2 separate regions of the Homo sapiens genome follow, and region 1 is linked to region 2. The links are contacts of gene promoters, found by promoter capture Hi-C in human tissues and cell types (Jung and others, 2019). All regions are on one chromosome and are shown on one strand. The core of a region is centred on a gene start or on the middle of the fragment in contact, and the rest is flanking DNA. Distances in the headings are between cores, read along the strand shown.

The links. Contacts are between HindIII fragments. The study calls those that stand out against the background at their distance.
Region 1: a contact is called between a fragment that was not itself captured here and the fragment with the promoter of ADAMTSL3 in region 2, in 1 of the 25 tissues and cell types used here (IMR-90 fibroblasts).

The regions. Positions count from the first base shown.
Region 1 is chr15:83,850,171-83,854,836 of GRCh38, reverse strand. All of the region lies in intron 7 of ADAMTSL3 (ADAMTS like 3), which reads right to left. Among named protein-coding and RNA genes, the nearest start is that of ADAMTSL3, 200 kb to the right of the region's middle. The HindIII fragment of the contact is 8,624 bases long and covers 1-4,666 here.
Region 2 is chr15:83,652,236-83,656,796 of GRCh38, reverse strand. It overlaps ADAMTSL3 (ADAMTS like 3), which reads right to left and starts at 2,674. Exons shown (of 30, transcript NM_207517.3): 1 at 2,521-2,674; 2 at 967-1,068. The coding sequence starts at 1,035. RefSeq lists an enhancer at 4,036-4,205. The HindIII fragment of the contact is 6,298 bases long and covers 1,797-4,561 here.

The DNA.
Region 1 (4,666 bases), core at 858-3,357, 200 kb before region 2:
CCCAAAAAGAATATTGTCAGTAACATATAAAACATTAAATAAATAAAAATCTCTGAATACAGAGTGAGAAATTAAGAAACAGAAACCTTTTTTTAAAAACAGAAGAATGAGTGAAGAAGGAATGATAGAATTAGAAAATAACCGTTTGCAACTCTCTGTGTTAAATACTGTTTCAGGCAAGGATCATCAATGTACACTAAAGCCATTGTGTGAAAGACTGTTGCAAGCCAGAATATTTACACGTTGTCAAGGCATCACTCTGCAGATTTCTTACAGGGAAACATGGATCTATACAACACAGTATGTGTAGTTCACCACCTGTGTGAGTAATACTGGATCAAGCTGACATCATCAACTTCCTGATATGATGCAACATAAATCACGCATCACTTTTGATGTGCTGCTGCCACAAATGTTCAATCCAATTCTAATTAAACCTAAGACCTTGCTGATCAATTCACAGGAATTACGTGAGGGAGATCAACAAATTAATCAAATTAACAAATTTTGTCTGGATTAGACAAATCCAGAATATGGGACATGCTAAAATACAACTGGAATGAACTCTTTACAAAGTCGATACCATGAAAAAATAAGTGCACTAAAAAAAAAGAAACTAAAGAGATAGAAAAACTAAATGCAATGAGTGAGCCTTGACCAGTTCAAGGGGAAAAACAACTATAAAAGGAGAAATTTTAACATAGATTGGATATTAGATAATATTTAGAAATTATAATTTTTTAGGTGTACTAGTGAGATGATGTTATGAAGAAGATCCTTATTTTTAGAAGAGTCATGCTAAAGTATTAATACTTAGAAGTAAGTGTTGTGATGTCTGTAAATTAACAAGGGTCAGCTAGCTAGTTGGATGGAGGAATTAGATAGATAGATAGATAGATAGATAGATAGATAGATAGATAGATAGATAGAGATAGAGTGATAGGGATAATGAACCAATGTAGCAAAATATAAGTAATTAGTGAATCTAGTTGAAAAAATGTACAGTAGTGAATTGTGTTATTTTATCAACTTTTATGTATGCTTGAAAATTTTACACAGTACAATTTTGGAGATAAAACTACATTCCAATGTCATTAACATCTATTTGATACCAAATTCCTAAGTAAAATATTTGAAAAGAAAATTTAATCATAAATTTGAATTATGCACTATATACAAATGAAGTTTACCCAACAAATGCTAGTGTTGCTCAAATTTAGGAAACCTACTAATGTAATTTACTATATTAATAGACAAAGTAGAAAAGTTTGATTACCTCAAATAAGTTTCCAGCATTTAGTAAAATTCAGTCATTATTCCTGATAAAAATTCTGTATATAAAATAAAGTAAATGTTTGTAACACCATTTATAAATGCAAGTCATGATTAATATGCTTAATGCTTAAACATTAGAAACACTGCTGTTTAATTGGGGAAATGATGGGATACCAGTCAGCACCGTATGACTGAAGAGTTTTTAAAAGATTAGCCAAGGTAATTAGGCAAGAAAAAAATAGTCTAAACATTGGAAATCAAGAAGAAATTAATATTAAAAAATTATTAGATTTTAGAAATACCAAGAATAATCATTTAGAAAAATAATGGAAGAAAATGCCCCATTTGCAATGGCTAGAGAAAAGATAGAATATGTTGGAATGAACTTTTAAAAAATGGGCACAACCGGCTGCGCATGGTGGCTCATGCCTGTAATCCTAGCACTTTGGGAAGCTAAGGCGGGAGGATCACCTGAGGTCAGGAGTTCAAGACCAGCCTGGCCAACATGGCGAAACCCCATTTCTACTAAAAAACACAAAATTTAGCTGGGCGTGGTGGGTGCCTGTAATCCCAGCTACTCAGGAGGCTGAGGCTGGAGAATCACTTGAACCCAGGAGGCAGAGGTTGCAGTGAGCCAAGATCACGCCACTGCATTCCAGCCTGGGCGACAGAGTGAGACTCCATTTCCAGCCCCCCAAAAATGGACACAACCTACAAAAACAACATTTAAATCTCTCTCTCTCAAGATATAAAAAAATGCCTTGAGAAAATCGAAGGAAAATATTAATCATTTGAAATAAAAATTAAGCAAAATTAAATGTCAAAGAAGGAAAAATTATAATTATAGGCAAAGACTGTTTTCTTAATATCCAGAGTGTTTACAAATCAGTAAGAAAAAAACACAAATTAGCAGGAGAATTGATCAGACACTTGAAAAACTAGTTCACAGAAAAATCAAAATGTCAAGAAGATTATGAAGAGAGAAGAGAAATTACAGTATCTTTGAGAACTAAAAGCACATAAAGACATGCTTGCACAAAAGTACAAAGTTGTTGTAACACTGAGAGAAAATCTAAATGCTCATTGATATGAGTCTGGTTAAATAAATTATGTAATGTCCTTTTATATCACCAGTTAAAAAACAAGCCAACTGGGTGCAGTGGCTCACGCCTGTAATCCCAGCACTTTAAGAGGCTGAGGCGGGTGGATCACTTGAGGTCAGGAGTTCAAGACCAGCCTGGCCAACATGGTGAAACCCTGTCTCTACTAAAAAATACAAAAATTATCCAGGCATGGTGGCTGGCACCTACAATCCCAGCTACTCAGGAGGTTGAGGCATGAGAATTGCTTGAACCCAGGAGGCGGGGGTCATAGTGAGCCGAGACCATACCACTGAACACCAGCCTGGGCGACAGAGCAAGACTCCATCTCAAAAACAAAAAAAACAAGCCAAATTATGAGAACTGATAGGCAAAAAAACCTCAGTGAATAAAAAGAAATTGTAAAAAAGTTTATACCTAATGATCAATTCTGTATACTTCTCAAAAGCATACATGTTTGTATGGAAAGGTGCACACATACACATCCATAGGAAATATCTTAATAGAAGCAACCATTCATCCTGTTTAGACCTCTAAAAAGTGGAACTGGTTAGGAGTTTGTGGATGGTAGAGGGTGACATTTACTTTCCATTTTATATCCTTCTGTGCCATTTGAAGTTTTTGTAAGTTTAAAAAACTTTTTAAGTTTTATAAAAAGTATGTATTAATTTTACAATATAAATTATCAATATATGTTATGCATCCTCAACCACTTCACCTCATCCCCGGAAGGATACACACTAATATGATAACACATGTAATCTCTTGGCAGTGTGATTGAATACATGACATGTTTGTCAATTTCCTTGCCTGGATATTCTGGATTTTTTTTACAACACATATACAGCATATTATATATGTAATAAAAATTGTTTTGAAAATACATATAAATTAGAAAGCTTTACTGAACTGAAGAAAACCTATTTGGGCATATTGGTTGGGCTCTCTTGCAAAATCTTTGTGAATGTAGGCTGTGGTATCTTGGGGAAGCATTTGTCTAGGGGTGTGTGTGCATATATGTGTATATTCCAACCATTGTCCCATTGATAATTACACACTTTAATGAAACCCTGCAAATCAAATCCCTTGCAGTTGATTTTAGCCAAAAAGCCTCAAACTTGAGGAAAATGTTCTTCTGGGTGGAGCTGCCTACTATATAACTCTTGGAGAGAAAGCACACTGCCGAGCACCCAGGCAAAGCTAAGAACAAGGAGCAGCCTATAAGGATCATCTCCTAAACTGGAATTCCCTTTCATTTCTGTAACCCTCCACTAAAGTTTCATACATTTGTAGAAGTCTCTGTGATACGCTGATAAGGCAGTACTTCCCAAACATTTTACCTAAATATGAATCATCTAGAAAACTTGTTAAAACACAGACACCTGCTCCACCCATAGAAATTCAGATCCAGCAGTTTAGGGTGGAGCCCAAGAATGTGCCCGACCAGCAGCAGCCTCCCAGGTGATGCTGATACTGCTAGACTGTGAGCCACATTTTGAGCAGCACGGGCGCAGGATATAGAGAGGGAGAACTCAAGTCATAAAGGGCAGAAAGGGAGGACTGGTCCACAGTCACAAACTTTTCAGCATTTCTTCACTGTCCTGCAAGAGACGGCCCAGTTCTAGGTCTGACCAGAAATGAAGTGAGAATCCTGTGAGGCAGAGGATTTTAAGGAGGCAGGAGCCAGGAGTACCAAGTGCTCTGCAGATGAGGGCTTAAAAGTGCCTTTTGGATGAGCAGTAAAGAGACTGTTAATGTGCTTTGCCAAAGCAGTTTCAATCAAGTAGCTGGCACAGGAAGCTGTGATCTGAGGAATACATTGATGATGAAAAATTAGAGACAGCAAATGTAAACAGTTTTTTCAAGACTTGGCGATAAAGAGTAGGTGAAAAATTAGGGTCGTAGCTGGAGACGTGATTAAAAGAGTGTTCTATATATATATATAATTTAAAAATATTTTTATATATAAATATTATACACCCATATACATACACATATATAAACATACACATATATATACACATATGTATATACACACATATGTATATACATGTATATACATAGACATTTTTAAAATTATACTTTTATTTAAGATGGGAAGAGACCCGCTGGTCATATTAACCCTGATAGGAAAGAGACAGTGAAAGAAGATAAAGGAAAGAGAGGGGATGATGGGTGGAGTGAGTTCTCTGAGGACACAGAGGAGCTGGAATGCAGAACACAGATGGAGGGATTAATTAGTCTTGGAAAGGAAGACAGACATTTGTGCCTCCGTAGCGGGAGGAAGCAGG
Region 2 (4,561 bases), core at 1,425-3,924:
TGACAAGTCCCTTCCGAGACCCTGAGGGTACACAGGCCACCAAGCCATGTATTTGAGAAGCTATGTCTGCAGGGAGGGATTGCCTTGTTCTAATTCATAAGACACTGTATGGAGCTAGCAGCAGCCCTTGGGACACAATACTAAGATGTGCCCTGCCTTTAGATCTGGGGCTGCAAACTGCTTGGCTGAATCCAGGCTGCAAACACATTTATCTGCCTTTCAATACTTTAAAAACTGGGAAATTTTGTAAGAAGTCTAGATGATCCAGCTATCTTGAAAAATAAGATCTGGCAATCCTGGGCTTATGTCTCCACTTAGCAACGATCAGATGGAATTGAGTAGAGACTGCTCTTAATAGATGGAGCACGCGTTCTGCACTTTGCCACTGTCTCCGTTACTCTCTATTGTCTCTTAGGCAATGCTAGCCTCATTCCTTTGTTTGAGTCTGTCCTTTAGGCAAATAAAGATGCAATTCATGAGCCGGGTCCTCTCAAGTTGGTTGGAAAAGACAGCAGAAGTCTAAAGAGAGGACTGTGGGATAAAACAGTGGGATATGTGATGATAGATGTAAACTCAGAATATTTATTTAGCAGCTTAGCTAGGGCCAGAACCTGGCTCTGCCCATTGTTTCCTGGTCTCCAGCAACCCAGCCTCTGCTGGGCACATGCAGACAGCCATTCTAGTCTGAAATGACAGGGTCCATCACAGCCCCAGGTCATCACCGGTGTATGGTATCCACAGTGCTATTAAAGCCCTACTCAGGATTCAGAGAGGACCCAAGGGATCTGGATAATCCTTACAGCTAAGCCAACCAGAAATACCATTGGCTAGAGATAGGAAAGAAAGTCTGGTTCTCTGGTGTAGGATTAACACTAATCATGCCACATCTTAGGTGGTATACAATAATGCCTCTGAGTAAACAGAGGGATGTCCACCATTTCCCTTCCCCTCCCTATATGACCTTACCTGCGGGAGGGGAGAGTGCATGAAGACCATCCCTATCAGCACCCACCAGGGGCTCGTCCAGGAAGCCATGGGGTCTAGTCTCCTCCGGGTCTCAGTTGTAGCCTACAAACGAGGAAAGAGTTCATTACCAACCAGCTCTGGCCCCCATGGCAGTAAACCGTGACTTAAGCGACCCATTAGATGGAGGGACCCTGAAGCCCATATACTATTTTGGAAAGGTTTGTGTTGGCCCAGGTTGCCGCTGCCTACTGCAGGGTGCAGGCTAACTGGGCTCCCTTTAGAAGGTCCACAACAAAGTCAGGCGAGGGCTGGACCTGTCTCCAGTGGGCATCTCATACCTCCAGCTCTTCAGAAGCTGAGATATCCCTGCCCAAGCCTATCTGTCAGCAGCAGGGTGTCGCTATTGGCATTTGACTCAGGAAGCCAGCACAGAGCCAAGGTTTAGGCTAGCTTCTGCTGCTCGCGGCAAAAATGAGTCTAAGACAACAAAGCCGCCCAGAGAGGGAAAGGACCTGCCTAAGGTCACACAGCAAGATAGTGACATTTTAGGGCTGAAACGCAGATCTTCTGATAGTTCAAGGCTTTCCTCGCTAGATGACACCGTGCGCCCTCGAGGTCCGGGACCCACACCCAGAGAGACGCCTGAGAGCTAAGTTCAGGGAGGTTTGGAGGACACAGCCCCTGAGCCAGCCTAACACAATCTCCTAAAAGTAGGTGAGGGCCAGCCAGCAGAGGTCAGCTGAAACCAGGAGGGAAGCGGGGACTTTTTCCCTTACTTTTCCTGTCAATTTACAGGGAAATCAGTATGAGTCGAGACTGGAAAAGCCGAGGTCACACTCGACTCCCGCTTCGCCTCGCGGGCGCCTTGGCGGAGCTGGTGTCCGGGGGCGGGTCGGTGGCTTCTCTCCATCTGGAGAAGGCATTAAGGGCCTGGTCTAATGTGATCCGCAAATGTGCTGCTGTTTCCGACCTGAGGCGGCGACTCCTGGCTGAAGGGAGGCGGCCAGTGCGGGGCCCTGGGACTCTGCGCCACCCTCGCCTGCTCGCACCAGCCTTCCGAGTGCACACTCCTCCGACTACCCGCTGCCTCGAAGTCGCTCCTCCAGTGCCTCCGCCGCGTCCCGGTCACCCCCACGCCCACTTTCCACGATCGCGCGTCGCCTCAACCCCCGGCGTTCTGGGCGCTCGCTACCCAGTGGTCAACCGGCCGGACCTTCGGACCCGCGAGGTTTCTGCTTAGTAACTCCCAATCCTGAAAAACTCCAACCCTGTGGAGTTCCCCCATAATCAAGAACGCCCCTCAGCCCGCGAACTGCCGCCGAAAGACTCTCCCTGAACCTTCCGGGACGGCACGAAGCGCGCCCGACCCGAGGTGCCCAGCAGTGAGGAGCACCCCAGTCCTGAGGCCCCCTGGGGCCCGCGTGGCACGCCCCGACTCTGCTTGGAGACCCCCAACTTGCTTAGAGAGGCCACTGCTCCAAGTCTTACTCCCTCTGGGGAGCGCCTTCCCCCGACCCCTGAGGGGCCGCCCTGCGCCGAGCTCGGTGCACCCACCTTGCGCCGCAGAAGTATCTGGGACGTGCAGCCCCGGGGCCGCGCGGGCTCGGCGCGCGCTGGGGAGAAGTTGGCAGAAGCCGCCCGTCAACACCTCGTGCGGAATCCGGCACCAGGACCTTCCCCGACGCCGGCCTCCAGCCCGCGGCGCCGCAGTCGCCGCCGCCGCCGCGAAGTTAAATGGGGCTGGGACGGGGGCTGCCCCGCCTCTCCCGCCCCCTCCGGGCGCGCAGAGCGCTGCGCTGGCCCCGGCCCAGAGGCGGAGGGCGCGCGCCGCCACCTGCACCGCCCGGCAAGTGCACGGCGCGCCCAGGCGCCCGTCAGCCTGCGCGCCGGCACCGCGCCCTCGGCTTGAGCTGGAGGCGCCGGGGGCGCGAAGAGACGCCGTGTGGGGCCAGGCCCGGGCCGCTCGGAGCGCGCGGGGCCGCGGCGACGGCGGGACTCGGCTGGAACGCTCCTCCGCCCGCTTCCTGGAAGCCACTCCTCGCCCTGGGCCGGCCGCCAGGCGTTGTGCCAAGAGCCGGGATTGCCGACGCCGCCACCGCCGCCGCCGGCAGGCGCACTGGGGAAAGGCGGCCGCTGCGCCGCAAGCCAGCCTGGCCGCCCCGCCTCAGCCGGAGCCGGAGCAGGGATGCCGTCGCTCCCCCCGAGCCCACCCCCGGCCCCACCTCCCATAGCCTCCACCCACCCCGCCCAGACCCGGGCGCCAGCTCTGCAAAGTCAGGCCCAGCAGCCACACAGAGGTTTGCCCGGAACCGCTGGCTCGTGCCTAAGAGCCATAGGCACTCCTGGCCAGGCAGGACCATAGTGGAGACCAATGGCCCTCTCCTGGCCTGCGCCTCCTCCGCGCAGCATAGACGCCACACAAGGGACTGTGGAGCGCTCACTGCCCAGAGGCCTGGGACCTTTGGCAGCCAGGGACCACGAGGATCTTGCAGGAGCGCCTCTTAACTGGGTACCTGGCGCCTCCTTGTCTGAGCCGGGCTTGGGGAACTGAGAGCTCCACAGGTGCCAGAATCATGCCGTGTCCAGGCCTGGGATTTGGGGTTGGGGGGAAGAGTGTCGCGGACAAGAGACTGGGGTGAGTTGCCTGTGTACTTCTGGAGGTGAGGAGAAGTAAAAGGAAATGTTTGTCCCTGTCCTTGTCCTAGTCCCAGCAGGATAAGCCAAGGGCCAGGAGATTGATCTTAAAGGCTGCATTATGCCCCCACCTAAGTCCTACCACAGTCGCCATTTCCTTGGGTGTCTGTCGAGTACCAAGCTCTTTGTGTCTATCTGATCTTCACAGCAGCAGTAGTTCGAGCATTATCCCATTTCACCTAGGATAAATCTGAGGCTGGGAGGATAACTTGCCCACCATGAGTGGAGAAGCCAGGACTGGAACCCCTATCTGCCTCTCTCTAGAGCCTGGACTGTTCACCCCTAAAGTTGTTCTCCTGCCTTCTCTGTGGTTGCTGCGTTCCGGTTACTGCTAGAGCTTTGCCAAGAGCAATTGGCCCTGCCTGCTTTCCTCACTCATTCTTCCCTTACTTACTCTGGTGACTTCCTCTGACCAAGAAGAGGATCTTCAAGGCTGTCTCTCCACTCTATGTAAAATGATTGGACTTGTGGCAAGTGAGCAGAGGACAGGTCAGTGTGGAGACAGGAGAGGTAAGAGTAGCCAGTGAAGGGTAGGGAGGGCTGGGCTAAACTAGAACTAACTCATCTATGGACAATCGATCCTTTTTATTTACTGTAGTTGTGGTCTATAAAGTCACAGAACAACGAATTTGTGAATATGGAGCCATTGTTCCTAGGGGAAATATAGAGTTGGGTTCCTGCAAGCTCACAATATTTTTGTCAATCAATCAACACATTGCCTTATTTTATGCATGTTTCTGTTTAAAGACGCCTTACTTAACATCTATTGTTGATTCCTGAACACTGAGCTCACAGCCTACAGTGCTGTAACTCATGCCTGAATGAAGCTTATCTAACTTACGTATTTTCTCTGCAACACACATCCCAGCCTTCTTCCACTTAGGAACGCTAGACTTCACTT